Regions from separate parts of the Homo sapiens genome. Here all the other regions are linked to region 1. The links are contacts of gene promoters, found by promoter capture Hi-C in blood cells and fetal thymus (Javierre and others, 2016). All regions are on one chromosome and are shown on one strand. The core of a region is centred on a gene start or on the middle of the fragment in contact, and the rest is flanking DNA. Distances in the headings are between cores, read along the strand shown. Region 1 holds the start of TOX2 (TOX high mobility group box family member 2). Region 2 overlaps LOC101927200 (a long non-coding RNA gene). Region 3 overlaps TOX2 (TOX high mobility group box family member 2). Region 4 overlaps TOX2 (TOX high mobility group box family member 2).

Region 1 (3,565 bases), core at 674-3,173:
TCAGACTTTGAGGCACAAATGCCCAGCCCACCCACACCCGCAAACCAGAGGCTGGTACCTACCTCGCCAACTTCACATTTTGAAAAATAACAAAGCCAAGGGCAGAAGACAGACCAGCTGCCCCCACACCCAACCTTCTCCTCCCTGAAAACTCCACTTGCTACTTTTAATCTATTTTCCTCCATCAGACTGGAGGCAGCTCCCGGCCTTCTCCTGAGGCTACCATCCCCCCTCATCGGCTTCTAACTTTGCAGGTCACTGGACAAAAGAGAACCACCGCCACTCTTCGCGAGACCTCACTTGTCGCCCACCACCGCCCCACATCGCGCAGGCCCTAGTGGCCTGGATGCTTGCTGCCCCTGGCGAACTGCAGGGAGGCTTTGCCAGAAGCCGCTCCCCTGGGGCCTGAGGGCGCACTCAGGGAGGCCCAGCCCGGGAGGCCCCGGGATCCGCGCCGGGACGCCTCTCTCCTGCCTCATCCCCACTACCAGGGGCCTGACGAAAAGCCTGCGAGGTTGGGGAGAGACCCTGGGGGGCGCCGATCCAGCCACTGGACGCGCACTCACCCCGCATCGCCACGGAGCCCACGCGTCTGCGCCAGGGCTGCGGGAAACCCACGCGCGCTGTTCAATCCGGGCTCCGAGTGACGAAAACCCGCGCTTGGCTCCAGCCGGCCCGGGACCGACGCACCGACTGGCGGACGCGCGGACAGTCTGGCTTCCTAACTAAGTTTGAAAGTTCCCTCTCCGGCGACCGAAGGGGACGCGGACTGCTTAGAGGCACCCAACCCATCCAGGCTGGGCCAGACCCGGCAGTGGGACCTGACGCCTCGGGTTCGGGGTTCCAGGCACGCAAGCCTCCATCACTGGGAATGCGCCCGGCGCAGCGCAGCTGGGACCTGGCTGGGGTGGGGGGATAGATCCTGGAAACATGGAGGAGGGAGGGTGTCCGGCACTACAGCCCCAGCCTGGAGGGACGCCGGCTCACCGCTCCCGGGAGGACACAGGCCTCGATTGGCCGCAGCCTACTCGGAATCCGAGGCCCCGCCAGGCAGTGACGGCCAATTAGTAAACTGCCCAATTAGTGTGCTGCGGCGCTGAGAAGTTAAACCTCGACGCGCGAGTGTGGATGACCGAGGTGTGGCCGTCCCTGGGTGTGACCGCGTGTGACTGTGTGGCCGTCAGGACGATCTGTGTCTGAGGCTCACCGTCCAGGGGGGTGGCTGTGTGTGACAGCGTGCGCCTGGGTGAGGCGTTGTGGCTGCGAGAGTGTGACTGTCGGGCGACTTCTTTGTGTGACTGTCCCCCGTTGTGCCTGGGTGTGACAGCGGGTGGGGGCATGTCACGGTGTGTGGGGCATCGGAGCGTCTGTGGGTGACTCGTCTGTGGCGGTGAGGCTGTTTGCGGGTGAGTGGTTGCGTGTCGTTGTGTATAAGTGACTGTCAGGGTGACTTGCGTGGGACGGCGGGACCGTGTAAGCAGTGCCTGGCCGCCTGCGTGTGGCTGTGGGTCACTGTGACGGCTTGTGAATGACTGCGAGGCTGTCAGGGGGACGCGAGTGAGGGGCCACTGTGTCGTCGCACGGGTGGCTGTCGGGATGACTTCTGCCCGCGATCCCAACAACTCAGGGCGTGAGCGTGGCCGCGAGGGGATCGATGTGAGCCGCCCGTGCCCGTCGGCGGGGCTGATGTGCGCGGCCCCGTGTGACCCCGGGAGCGCCTGAGTCCCGAGCTGCCAGGTGACTCCGGCCCCGCCCGCCGGGGACCCCCGCCCGCCCCCGCCTACCTTGCCGCCGTGGTAATAGTCCAGGTGCGCCAGGCCGGCCGGCTCGGCCCCGGGCCGCGCGCCCACCGCGGGCGCCGAGGGGTACAGGCGGACGTCCATGGCGGGCGCGGCGGCGGCGGCGGCGGCTCCCGCGGGCAGTGCCTGGGCGGGCGGCGGGTGGGAGCCAGTGTGCGAGCGGGACTGCGAGCGCGGGGGGCGGGCCGGGGGCGGTGCCCAGAGGAGCGCCCCGCCCCCGCCCCCGCCCCGCCCGCGCGCGCTATTGTTCCGGCCTCGGGCGCTGCCTAGGGCCGGGGGCCCGGGGGCCCGGGCCGGGGCGTGGAGGTCCTTCCTCCGGGCTGGGCCGCCGCCGGGTCCCCCGCCCGGCCCTGCATCCCTGAGGGGGGCGCGCCTGTCCAGACGGCGCTTTTCCGTCCCGCCTTTCGCCACCCACGGTGAGGAGAGAAGCCCGAACGGCACCCCTCCCCAGAAGTGGGACACTCCCTTGCCCTAAATATTTGAGGCGGCGCTAGTCCCCGCCCCGCGGCGTGGGTGCGGGGGGAAGAGGAAGGTGGTGACAGGACCACTTTGGAGATGGGTGCTGCCTTACCTGGGGGGACGCAGGCCAGCGCCGGAGGATGCTCTTAGCATGCCCGCCCCCTCCTCGTCTCACTGATCTGAGTCAGCTTGACAGCCCCCCCTGGAGATTGCCGCGCTTAAACTCTCACTCACATATGGGGAAACTGAGTCAAAAACTTGCAGCATCAGTAATGGAGCTCCAGGCGGGTGGGCTCCGTTGCCCCCAAAGGATCCAGAGCTGAAACCACTTGGAGAAGGCAGCAGGACCCCACCCCTTTTAATGATAGGGAGGGGAGGGCCGCAGGAATGCCTAGAGCCCGAAGCTCTGAAGAGGGGTCTAGGATCTGCCCACAGTCACGGTCTCTTGGAGTGAGGAAAGGAAGAAAATGAGATTGGAATGGGATGGCTCTGATGGTGGGTCAGAAAGGTGACTGTGAAATGGGGTTCCTCCCCAACCAAAAAAAAAAAAAAAACCCTCTAGTTCTTGATATCACTTGCTGGTTGCTAGACTGTTGCACCCCCATCCCCCTTTTCATGCAAGAATTGTCTACACTAGCAATCTCCCCTAGCAATCTCACTGCTCACTGACTGCTCCAGGTATGTCTGACTGGGAGAGGCCAGGAGGCGAAGTCAGCCAGAATGGCATTCTTGTGTGGCACCAGGATATAGGATGCCATTGGGAGAAAAGGACTTGAGCTTCCTGCCCACTCAGGAGCTAGCTTAGAACTTAGTTCTCAACTGCTGCTTGGGCTTTGCTGGTCCTGGCCTAGAACTAGGACCATAAGAAAGATGCATTAACAAAAGATAGGTGTGGGAAACAGGCATTCACTGAAGGCTTGGGAACAACAGAGGGAAATTATAGCTCAGAAAGGAAAGAACTTCCAAATAAATTTCAGCAGTCATTGTTTCTAGAAATACAATGCCACACCTCATCAGAAAAAAATTTCCATTGTCCTGTGTCCATTTTTTTCATCTGGATATCCAACTGACCAGCACTCTTTATTGAAAAGATCACCACCACCACCACCACCCCCCTACACACACACACATACTCTTCTGCAATGCTAACATTGTCGTAAATCAAGTAGTCGATATGTGCATAAGACTGTTCCTGAATTCTCTATTCTGTTCTGTTAGCCTATTTTTCTCTCCCTGTGCCATTATCACAATGTCTGGATTACTGTGGGCTTATAAGTCTAAATGTCCCATGAAATAAGCCTACCCAT
Region 2 (3,565 bases), core at 268-2,767, 120 kb after region 1:
CTTTAAAACCCCTTTAACCCACAAAGTCACCTGGGATTCTTTTATCTTCTTCTCCTTTGTAGGCAGCCACGTGACTGGCTATGGAGCACTGACTGAGATGCTGAGGCAGGAGGCTCAACTGTGATTTCAAATCAACCAACACTTGCTGCAGCCCTCTGTGTGCCAGGCACCAGACAAGGCCCTGTGACTGAGCAAGATGGAATAGGCTCAGCCTGTTTCCACAACAATCTTGCAGCCTGACAGCAGAGACAACTTGGGGCATGCACAGAAGAGTGAGAAACACTGACGATGCAGATAAGCTGGAAGGTTCTAGGTATACGTCCTTAGAGATCTTGGATTGGGGGTCTCCAAGGCTTGAAGGCCACCCAAGATCCCCTTCCACCCAACCAGACCTAACTACAGAAAGTTTCAGATCCAGCCAAGTGTATTTCATTTTTCCCAAAACGCTACTCCCCAGCAAGAGGGTCTCAGACTGTCCAGACCTGGAGCTTTGGGCCATTCATTCCCTCTTAGACAGCACCCAACCCTGCTCCACCCCCATGAAGCTCTTGCATCACGAGACACATGATTTGGCATCTGCCCCAGAGGAGTGATGGGTAAAGGTGAGCCCATGGACAATCACATGTGTACCCTCCCTGGTACACTCTGGAAATGGGAAGAAGAAATGCAGCTGGCTAAAGAGGACTTTCTTTTTCTTTTCTTCCCTAAAGCAAGGGAGCTCAGCAAAGCTTACGGCAGCATATTTGAGTTGTGCTATACCTGCTACCTGGCTTGAATTCCTTCAAGGCCTGGCTGGCTACACTCACCTCTCCCTTCTGACAATGGAACAGAGGCCTTTCCTTGGGGCTGAACTGGGTTGTGAAGGAGAAACAGGCATCACAAGGTGGGCCACATGGACAAAGGCCGAGTAGAGAGAATGCAGGACATTGCGTTCAAAGAACTAAAAGCAGATGGATTTTTATTGTAGCCTTAATTGCAAGGGAGCAAGCCCTGAGAATGTAAACATCAAATGAGGTAATCTAAGCATGTTAGAAAATGTCAAACTATGGATAAATGTGAATTACTACCTATATCACTGAGGTGATGGGGAAACCAAGTGATATGTTATATGCATACTAGCATTACATAAATTATAGTTGTTACAGGATATTTTGGAAGATTAAGCTTCAACCATGGACACTGATTTTAAAATATACCTATCTGTCTATTTCTTTTCATCCTACCTTTTTACAGGTGTTCATAAACTGAGAATTATGATCAATTTCTTCTCTGTTCTCTTTTCCAAATGAACACACTCTACCCAACTTTAACCTTTACTTTTAGATATTCTTAGTTTCCTGTCAATTTGACCACCATGCTTCAGGTTTGAAGCATTGTGATCATGTTTTATGGACAGACCATTCTTCTGGCTATGAGTATGAGGGTAAGAGAGTTGGTATTTATATCCCTTTTTATGTCTTCAGTTATCACCTGCTATGGTTTGACTGTGTCTCCCAAAAAGCATGTGTTGGAAACAGAATCCTCAATGCAACAGTGTCAGGAGGTGGGGCCTGTTAGGAGGCGGGGCCTCATGGGAGGTGTTTAGTCATGAAGGCTTCACCTCCATGAATGAATTTAAGGGTTTGAGGCTGTGAGTTTGACCATTTGCTCCCTCTCTCGCCCTCTCTTTGCCCTCCCACCATAAGATGACATAGCAAGAAGGCCCTTGTCAGATGCCGGCCCCTTGATCTTGGATTTCCTGGCCTCCAGAATCATGAGCCAATAAACTTCTGCTCAATATAAATTACCCAGTCTGTGGCATTGTGTTACAGCAGCAAGAACTAAGACACCACCTTATTCAAATGTATTATCACACCACATCTAAGCTTCTGTCATAATTTGAGCTGTATACACTGCCTCGAAGCTTTGTCTCAAAATCATCTTCCTCTTAGCTGGTCAAATATCAATATTATGTTTACCATTAAAACTAACTGTAGTGCTTGCTTTGGCAGCACATATACTAAAATTAGAACAATACAGAGAAGATTAGCACGGCCCCTACACAATGATGACATGCAAATTCATGAAGCATTCCATATTTTTTAAGAAAAAATTATATACATTAAAAAAGCTAACTTCAAAAGGACCTCTACTATAGCCAATGTGATAAAACAAGAAAAATAATAAGGGGTAAAATGGTTGGAAAGGAAGAAATACATTTATCATTATTAGCAGGCAATATAATTACATATGAGAACACCAAAAAAATCACAGAAAAGCTATTCAAACTAACAAGAGAGGCCAGTAAAATGGTCTAATACAAAGTATATTTGCAGCTGGACTCAATGGTTCATGCCTATAATCCCAACACTTCGGAAGGCTGAATTAGGAGGATTGCTTGAATGCAGGAGTTTGAGACCAGCTTGGGCAACATACCGAGACCCGTCTCTACAGAAAAAAAAATAATAATTTTTTTAAATCAACCAGATATGGTGGTGCATGCCTATAGTCCAGGCTAATAGAGAGGCTGAGGTTTAAGGATCACTTAAGCCCAGGAGGTTGAGGCTGCAGTGAGCCATGTTCCCACCACTGCACTCCGGCCTCAGCAACAGAGTGAGATCATCTCAGAAAAAAAAGTATCTATTTGCGTGAAGCAACAGTTTTTCTATATATAACAATAGCCAATTAGAAATAAAACAGAAAAATCTGGTTCATGATATACATCTAGCTACCTTACTGACATCTCCATAAGAATGTATCACAGAAATTTCAGCACAAAAGTGAATTTTGGATCTTCCACTCCAATATTTTCCTCCCCCAGTGCTCCCTAATTCCATGAAGCGCTCTTTCATCTACTTACTTGCACAAGACAGAACCCTAGGATTCTTTCCCTTTCCCCTCTCCCAAACTCCCATCCCCAAATCTGTCATCAAAGCCTGACAACATACTCTACGTCCATCCACTCATCCCTCCAACCCAACTGCCTCTACGTTAGTTCAAGCCTCCATTATCTCTCACCAGGACAACTGTAGTAGCCCTCACTCTTCTCCTCTTTTGTGTTCTTGCCCTCCCCAATATGTCTCTATGAAGCAGGCATAAGGACCCTTTAAGATTTTAAGCTAAATTACACTATTTCCCAGCTGATACCCTTCAGAAGCCGATACACCCCATATCCTCAGCATCACCTGCATGCCTTGGCTTCCCATGGTCCTGAGGACCCTTCTAGCTTTGGCTCAAGCCAATCTCCTCCTCACTACCTGTGCTGCAGCCATGCCAGCCCCCTTTTGTTTCCTTTAATGCCCCTAGTCTCTTTCCTACTTCAGGGCCTTCGCTCTCTGTCTTTCCTCCTGGGAGTAAGAATCACTGACCTTCCTTCAAGAAGACTGAGGAGAGCCAGAGGACATTAGTCCTTGCCAGAGATCACCCTGACTTTCTGGGCCTCAGTTTCCCTGTCTGCAACCCCAACTCGTTGAACTAGAGATTCTCTCTGGAATTGCATGAGCTGAGATTTCAGTAAGAGTTGACAGCAATTGAACTGGTGGAGAAGGAGAATGGGAAGTGGGGAAGAGGACAGAGGGGAAATGGT
Region 3 (3,565 bases), core at 558-3,057, 110 kb before region 1:
CTTTTGGAAGCTCTGCTGGGACCACGAGGGGAGAGAGGAGACAGTAAGCAGGTGTCACAGGACAACTTTCTATTTAGATGCTGAGCAGAAAGTGCGATTGTGGAGGGCAGGTGTTCCCATCACAGCAATTCCCCATGGGGATCCTAACTGCAGAAGCGGGTGACTGGAACATGGGTTTGCCACTCACAGGCCATGTTCTCATTTTGGGGGTCAAGTGGTTCTTTTAACAACCCTGTGAGGTCGCTGCTGCTGTTTCCACCTTACAGTTGAGCAAACGGAGCCTCCAAGAGGTGAGGTTCATGGCTCCCTGTCTGCAGCGCACACAGAGCAGGATCAGGATCCAAACCCAGGTCTGTCTGACCCCAAAGTTTGAGCTCTTTTCACTATTGAGGGCAGAGGGGCATGGTGCAGGCTGGGCTGGCCTCACCACATCCTCTTACCCACGGTTACAGAGTGCCTGAAAGGGTATGGTGCTTGTTATCACCAAGCAGGTCAGCACAGCAATATCCGTCTTGTTTTGACTAATCTTTGTGACTTATCTTTCTGTATCTTTGTGAAGAATTGAGAGGGAACCACTGGTCAAAAACAATGACAAACCACAGAACTGCTGTGATGGAAGCGGAGCTGGAGGGCGAGGCTTGCTGTTCAGCATCAGCGCGGTGGCGACCCTGAGTGTCAGGGGGCTGCCAGGACTCCAGGGTTCACTGTGGCCAAGGAAGGGACGAAGCTTGGGGAGCCAGGAGGGGCAGATCACAAGGGGATGAGGACTTGGTCTGGCAGTCACTGGGGGTCCAGAGTGGTGTGTGAGTGGGGGATGGCCCAGCAGGTTCCCCTGTGCTCAGGGCAAGAGGCTAAAGGCAGGGTCAAGAGGCACATGGGGCAGATGTCATGGACAGGAGAGAGCTGAGGAGGCAGAACTGGCTGCCCTTGGTCACAGCAGGTGGATAACTAAAAATGACCTGTCCAAGCTGTGAATCCTCCAAATTCCTGAATTTGATCTTCAGTTTCTATTTCAAAAGGGGTCTGAGAGCCCTGCCCACAGCACCAGGACTGGGAGGGGGCATCAGAGAATCTGGCAGGGAACCTTTCCTCCCCCATCTGAGTGCCAGGGAGGGCACATCTTACTCCTTTGCGTCTTTGTCTGTCTGTATCACTGGAATGTAAGCTCCAGGAATCAGGGATTGTCATCAGTTTTGTTCACTGCTCAGGGCTTGGAAGAGTGCCTGGTACATAGTAGGGGCTTAATAAAAGTGTGAGGGCTGAATGAGTGCGTGAGTGATCCTGATGGAATGAAGCAGAGAAACTCCAATGTCTTGCTCAAGGTTTGCAGCTCTAAGCGCTGCAGCGAGGGTTTGGGAGCAGAAAAGTAGGTTATTTTCTCCTCCAGCAATGAGCTCCCCATAGACAGATGCCCCTCTCCCAGAACCAGTCCAGCCCCACCCTAGGCTGCTGCTGGGGGCTCTACTAGACCCCCTCACCCCCCTGCCCAGCCACAGCACCCCCTCTGGGAATGGGGCAGCCCCTTCCACCTGGGACCAGTTGGCCTCCTTCACCCCTACTCACTTTTGGACTCAGTTCAAATGCCCTTGCCTTCAGGAGGCCTTCCCTGGCTCCCCACCTAAATCAGGATCCCTGCTGATTCTCTCTCCTGACACCCTGTTATTTTTTCCATTGAACTTGTCACAGCTGTTAGTCGTACCTTCGGCTGAGTGTGTACATGGCTCTGGTTGTGTGCTCCATTTATGAAAGAGGGAACCGTGGCTGGTGCTTTGCTCTGAGCCGTTTCCCCAGTGCCCAGCCCGAGGTCTGGCACCTGTCAGGCACTCAGCACATGTTGAGGAATGAGCCAGGTGGGCTGGGAGCTCTAGGCCCCAGACTGGCAGCCTCCATGATCCCCTAAGTGGGACCTCCCTCCTACATCCTCCACCTCGAAGCATTTGAGGCACGCCATGGTCGGGCCCCTGCTTTCTCCAAGCCTCTGCTTGTCCTGCTCCCCACTGGCCCCCGACACACAGAACATTCCTGCCTCCTCATCTTTGCCTGTGCACTTCCTTCTGCCAGTGATGCCTCACCCATCCCCAAGCACCTAGGCACTGGCTGAAGTCAACTGGTGTCTGGGACCTATTTGAGCTCGACCAGCCACTTCATCTCTCTGGGCCTCCTCAATTAAGGATCTCCAAATGGGGCAGAGATGGAATCAGATCTGCATCCAGTAAGTTCCCACTGGCTGCCCCCATGGGGATGAACTGGAGCAGGAGACACAGAAGCAGGGAGACCAGGTCAGAGGCTTCTGCAGCTGCACAGGCTATGGCGGAGAGGCCTAAGCTGGGATGGGGCAGTGGAGGCGGGACAGACTCAAGGCAGGAAGCCTGGTGGTGGGTTCCGGGTGGGCTCAGCATGGCTCAGGGATCCCAGGCAGGTGGTGGGACCTCCGCATGACGGGGAAACATAAGAAGGAGGGGAGGGTGACCCACCCCCTCCCCTGAACGCTGAACATTCTCCATTCTGAATTGGCACATGTGCTAATTAAAACCATCTTTCCAAAGAATTTATTATAGGCTATTCTGAGCTAATTATAAATTCTCTGAAGCTGATCCTGAGCAGTTTGCTAATGCAGTGTTGAAATCTCTTTGGCCACCCTCATTTAAATTATTCATCAGGCCCTGCAACAGTTGTGAACTGTAATTTAAACAGTCAGCTCATGAATATTCAGTTAACACAACAAACACTGCCGTGTTTTACTGCCTCGCCGCTCAATATTTTGTATCCTCACCCGTGTTTACATGTTTTTATGAACTCTCGAGAAAAGTGTTGCCTGTGTTGAAGTGGCTGGTTAAGCCGAGACTGAAATGCCCAAGGTGGGGAGGAGGCGGCAGGAAAAGCTTCCCAGATCCTTTCCCAGGAGAGTTGTGGGTGCTCAGGGATGGGGCTCAGTGGCCTCACCCCACAGAAGAAGGAAGGAGGCCCAGAGAGGGTCAGAACCAGCCCTGAGGTCACACAGTGGACCTGAGGCACAGAAGGACTTGGAGTTCTGGGGTGGTTCCTACCGCCTAATTTACCACAATTTAATTGATGAAGGGGGTGTGGGGAGGTCTGGCCTGAGACAGTGTCAGGGAGGCAGAAGAAGCCACACATTTCCTGCTCTCCAGCACCCCCTTTTTAGGTTTATTACGGTTTATTTTATTTTTGAGGTAAAACAAATTCCTAGGGTTTTTTTAATCCATAATTTAAGAGGAATGCCCACTATTAATATCAAGGAGTAATTTTTAGTTCAAAATATGCTGTTTATCTTCTTTTTCCCCCTCTTCCCACCCTTTCTCCCTGAGTCCCCAAAGTCCATTGAGTCATTCTTATGTCTTTGCATCCTCATAGCTTAGCTCCCACTTATGAGTGAGAATATACGATGTTTGGTTTTCCATTCCTGAGTTACTTCACTTAGAATAATAGTCTCCAATCACACCCAGGTTGCTGCAAATGCCATTAATTCATTCCTTTTTATGGCTGAGTAGTATTCCATTGTGTGTGTGTGTGTCTATATATATATATATATATATCACAGTTTCTT
Region 4 (3,565 bases), core at 739-3,238, 77 kb before region 1:
ATGCTGCCCAGGCTGGTCTCAAACTCCTGAGCTCAAGCGATCTACCCACCTTGGCCTCCCAAAGTGCTGGGAGTATAGGCATGAGCCACCGTGCCAAACTGTTTTTGTTTTTTTAATTGAATTTTCTTTTTCGAGACAGGGTCTTGCTCTGTTGCCCAGGCTGGAGCACAGTGGCATGATCACAGCTCACTGCAGCCTCAATCTCCCGGATTCAAGCGATCTTCCACCTGAGACACCCAAGGAGCTGGGACTACAGGCGTGTGCCACCATGTCCTACTATTTTTTATTTTTTTGTAGAGACCGGGTCTTGCTATATTGCCCAGACTGGTCTCAAACTCCTGGCCTCAAGCAATCCTCCCTGCTTTCCATTCCGAAGTGCTGGGATTACACGCGTGAGCTACTGTGCCCAGCCTCAAATTACATTTTTATAGCTACATATCCAACTGCCTCTTTGATACTTTACTTCCCTTGGATGTCCTACACAAAAGCCCAGCAAACTTTTTCTGCAGATAATATGTATTTTTGGCTTTGTGAGTCATATGGTCTCTGTCAGAACTATTCAACTCTATTGCTATAGCATGAAAGTAGCCACAGGCAATATTTAAACTTAGGAGGATCCCATGTTCCAGTAAAGCTTTATTTACACAAAACAGGTGGAGGGTCAGATTTGGTCCAAGGGCCATGATTTCTTTGACACGTCCAGAACTGAGCTTGTGGTCATCCTTGTACCCACCAAGTCCATTTCCCCCTCAGTATTCCTCTACCGGTGGCTCAAGCTGGGTACCTGGGAGAGATGTTCAATTCCTCCCTCTCTCATCCCCATCTCCAATCAATCACAAAGTCCTGTCAGCCCCACCTCCCCATGTATCTCAAATCTTCCCACCACAATCCATCTGCAGAGCAACCATCCTAGTCCAAGCGGTCATCACCTCCCACAAGGACTGCTGTAATCACCTCCTCAATGATCTCCTAACTTCTAATCTCTTTCCTTCCAAATTGTTCTCCATAGCAGCCAGGGTAGAGGTTCCACACACAAAACTGATGGTGATACTCCCATTAGCTGATGTCCTCTACGCTCAGGATACAGTGTGTGTGAAACCCTCTCTGTAGCCTGCAAAGTCCTGCATGATCCGGCCCAGTCTCCTTCCAGTCTCACCTCCTATGACACCCCCTCATCGCTATGGCCAGCCTGGATGGTGTCTGACATGCCACGTGCCTTCCTCATTCAGCGGGGACTCGAACATCACTCCCAGGTTCCCATCTCGAGCCACTGGTGGAGGAATACTGAGGGGAAAACATGCTTGGTGGGTATAAGGAGGACCACGAGCTCAGTTTTGGACATGTCAACATTCCTAAATCAGTTCGGATCAGCAAATCACAGGCCGTGGACCAAATCTGGCCCTCCACCATTTTTTCTTTTTTTTTTTTTTTTTGTAAACCCTACACGAATGTGTTTCATGTTCTAAAACCAGCATTACCTCTGCCATTTTTCTATTGTTTTATTCTATGTGTTTGCATGTTACATGCTACAAATATTACTCCCAATTTGTCACTTGATCTTATTTATAACTTTTGCCATATCAAGGGCTTTACATTTATGTTAAAACATTAAATGTATTAATGTATGATTTCTGGCTTTCACATCATGCTTAGAAAATGGCTTCTCCATGCTGGTATTACTAAGACATTCAACCACGACATTTTTTCAGATATGGGCCTGGCTCGATCTGAAGGCTATGATCCTTCCTTACGCCACATGAGTTTCCCACAGTGGCCTCAAAATGGGAGCTCCTTTGGCTCCAAGACATTGCGAGATGCTGAGACTTCCCTTTAAATCACTGCAAGGGATGCCACACCCCATGCACGTGCCCTGCCCTCATGTCAATGCTGGGAGGCCTTACAAGGGAGGTAGGGGTATCCTGGCTCCTACACGATCGCTCCTACACGATCACTCCTGATGCTGTCCTGGGTCACTTACCTCTGCCCATGCCACACGTGGTTGGGAGCTGCTCTTGACCATCCCAGCCGTCGATCAGATAAGTCTCCCAGTTCTTCCACCTCACTGCCTCCACTCCAGCCACGTTCCTCAAACATGCCAGGCACACTCCCACTGCGGGGCCTTGGTGCTGGCTGTTCCCTCTACTGCAATGTCCTTTCCCAGATCTCAACTCCCTCGCCCCTTCAAGTCGTTGCTCAAATGTCACTTTCTCAGCAGCGCCTTCCCTGGCCACCCTGTTTGCAAGTGCAGCTCCTGCTGGCACACCCAGCTCCCCTACCTGCTCAGTTTCCCCACAGAACTTTTACCTGCAAACATACAGTATACTTTACTTCTTTAAAATAATGATTATGGCTGGCTGCAGTGGCTCACGTCTGTAATCCTAGCACTTTGGGAGGCCAGACCACCTGAGGTCAGGAGTTCAAGACCAGCGTTGCCAACATGGTGAAACCCCATCTGTACTAAAAATACAAAAATGATCCGGGCATAGTGGTGTATGCCTGTAATCCCAGCTACTCAGGAGGCTGAAGCAGCAGAATTGCTTGAACCTGGGAGGTGGAGGTTGCAGTGAGCTGAGATTGTACCACTGCACTCCAGCCTGGATGACAGAGCAAGACTCCAACTCAAAATAATAATAATAATAATAATAATAATAATAATAATAATAATAATGATTATTGCCTGTCCCCTTCACTAGGATATAAATTCCACCATTTGGTCACTGATATATTCCAAGGGCCAAGGATAGTACCTTGCACATAGTAGGCCCTCAATAAACATTTACTGAATAAAAGGATGCATGAACGAGTAAGGACTAGGAGTGTTTGACTGCTTTGTTCACAGTTTCGTCTCAGCACCTACACCACTGCCTGACGCACAGTAGGTGCTTAGTAAATATGTTTTGGAGTGAATGAATGAATGAACATCCTAATGGTCTGCTATGGCATTGGGCTCAGTGCTGCACCATCTTTCCTGCAAGCTCTAAGAAGTCAGCAAAGGTCTGAAGCAGCCCGCTCAGTGACGCTGTTCAGCATGAAATCATTCTAACTTGGCCCATCGGGGTCTCCTGGTTCCTTGTCCTTATCTTAGCATCTTCTCATGAAGATCTGAGCCCCTACCTCTGACAGGCTGTGTGACCTTGGACAAATCACTGACCCCTTTCTGGGCCTCAGTTACACCAACTGTAAAAAGAGGCAATTGGATCAAGGGATTTTAAAAATCAAATTCAATTCATGCCTGTGCTCCTTGTATGCAGGTACCCAGGCACACACAAGGCAGTGCTGATTTTAAAAGCAGCAAAAATGATGAGTAGGCTCTCTAGTTGTTTCTGTCTTAAAATAAGCTTCTGGAAAAATGATGTCTATTTGCAGCTTTTTTTTTCTTTCCCATTTCTACCTTCTGAAAATGACAGAAGTAGCATTGCCTAAAAATGTGCCACACGCCAGCTGCCTGTGGATGAAGGCACTTAAGTTCTCTGAGAATGGTCCTCATGAGTGCCCCGAGATCCCAGGACACCAGGCTGAGCAGTGAAGTCCCCTAGAGCACACTGCTCCATGGACACTGCCCTGC

Evidence for each region. The method cuts DNA at HindIII sites, captures the fragments that hold promoters and counts their contacts. A CHiCAGO score of 5 or more calls a contact.
Region 2: a fragment that was not itself captured here is called in contact with the fragment with the promoter of TOX2 in region 1 in 1 of 17 cell types (naive CD8 T cells); the score reaches 5.7 in naive CD8 T cells.
Region 3: a fragment that was not itself captured here is called in contact with the fragment with the promoter of TOX2 in region 1 in 1 of 17 cell types (total CD8 T cells); the score reaches 6.4 in total CD8 T cells.
Region 4: a fragment that was not itself captured here is called in contact with the fragment with the promoter of TOX2 in region 1 in 6 of 17 cell types (monocytes, naive CD8 T cells, total CD8 T cells and 3 more); the score reaches 7.1 in monocytes.

The regions. Positions count from the first base shown.
Region 1 is chr20:43,913,210-43,916,774 of GRCh38, reverse strand. TOX2 (TOX high mobility group box family member 2) reads right to left here and starts at 1,923. Exons shown (of 9, transcript NM_001098797.2): 1 at 1,785-1,923. The coding sequence starts at 1,883. RefSeq lists silencers at 443-492, 1,683-1,772, 1,823-1,932, 1,953-2,052, 2,153-2,272 and 1 more and enhancers at 751-1,468, 1,469-2,186. The HindIII fragment of the contact is 9,025 bases long and covers 1-3,565 here.
Region 2 is chr20:43,794,954-43,798,518 of GRCh38, reverse strand. All of the region lies in intron 1 of LOC101927200 (a long non-coding RNA gene), which reads right to left. It also overlaps the pseudogene RNU6-639P. Among named protein-coding and RNA genes, the nearest start is that of GTSF1L, 70 kb to the right of the region's middle. The HindIII fragment of the contact is 701 bases long and covers 1,167-1,867 here.
Region 3 is chr20:44,026,218-44,029,782 of GRCh38, reverse strand. All of the region lies in intron 3 of TOX2 (TOX high mobility group box family member 2), which reads right to left. Among named protein-coding and RNA genes, the nearest start is that of TOX2, 110 kb to the right of the region's middle. The HindIII fragment of the contact is 2,155 bases long and covers 730-2,884 here.
Region 4 is chr20:43,990,718-43,994,282 of GRCh38, reverse strand. The region is part of intron 2 of TOX2 (TOX high mobility group box family member 2); the gene reads right to left. Among named protein-coding and RNA genes, the nearest start is that of TOX2, 78 kb to the right of the region's middle. The HindIII fragment of the contact is 2,704 bases long and covers 637-3,340 here.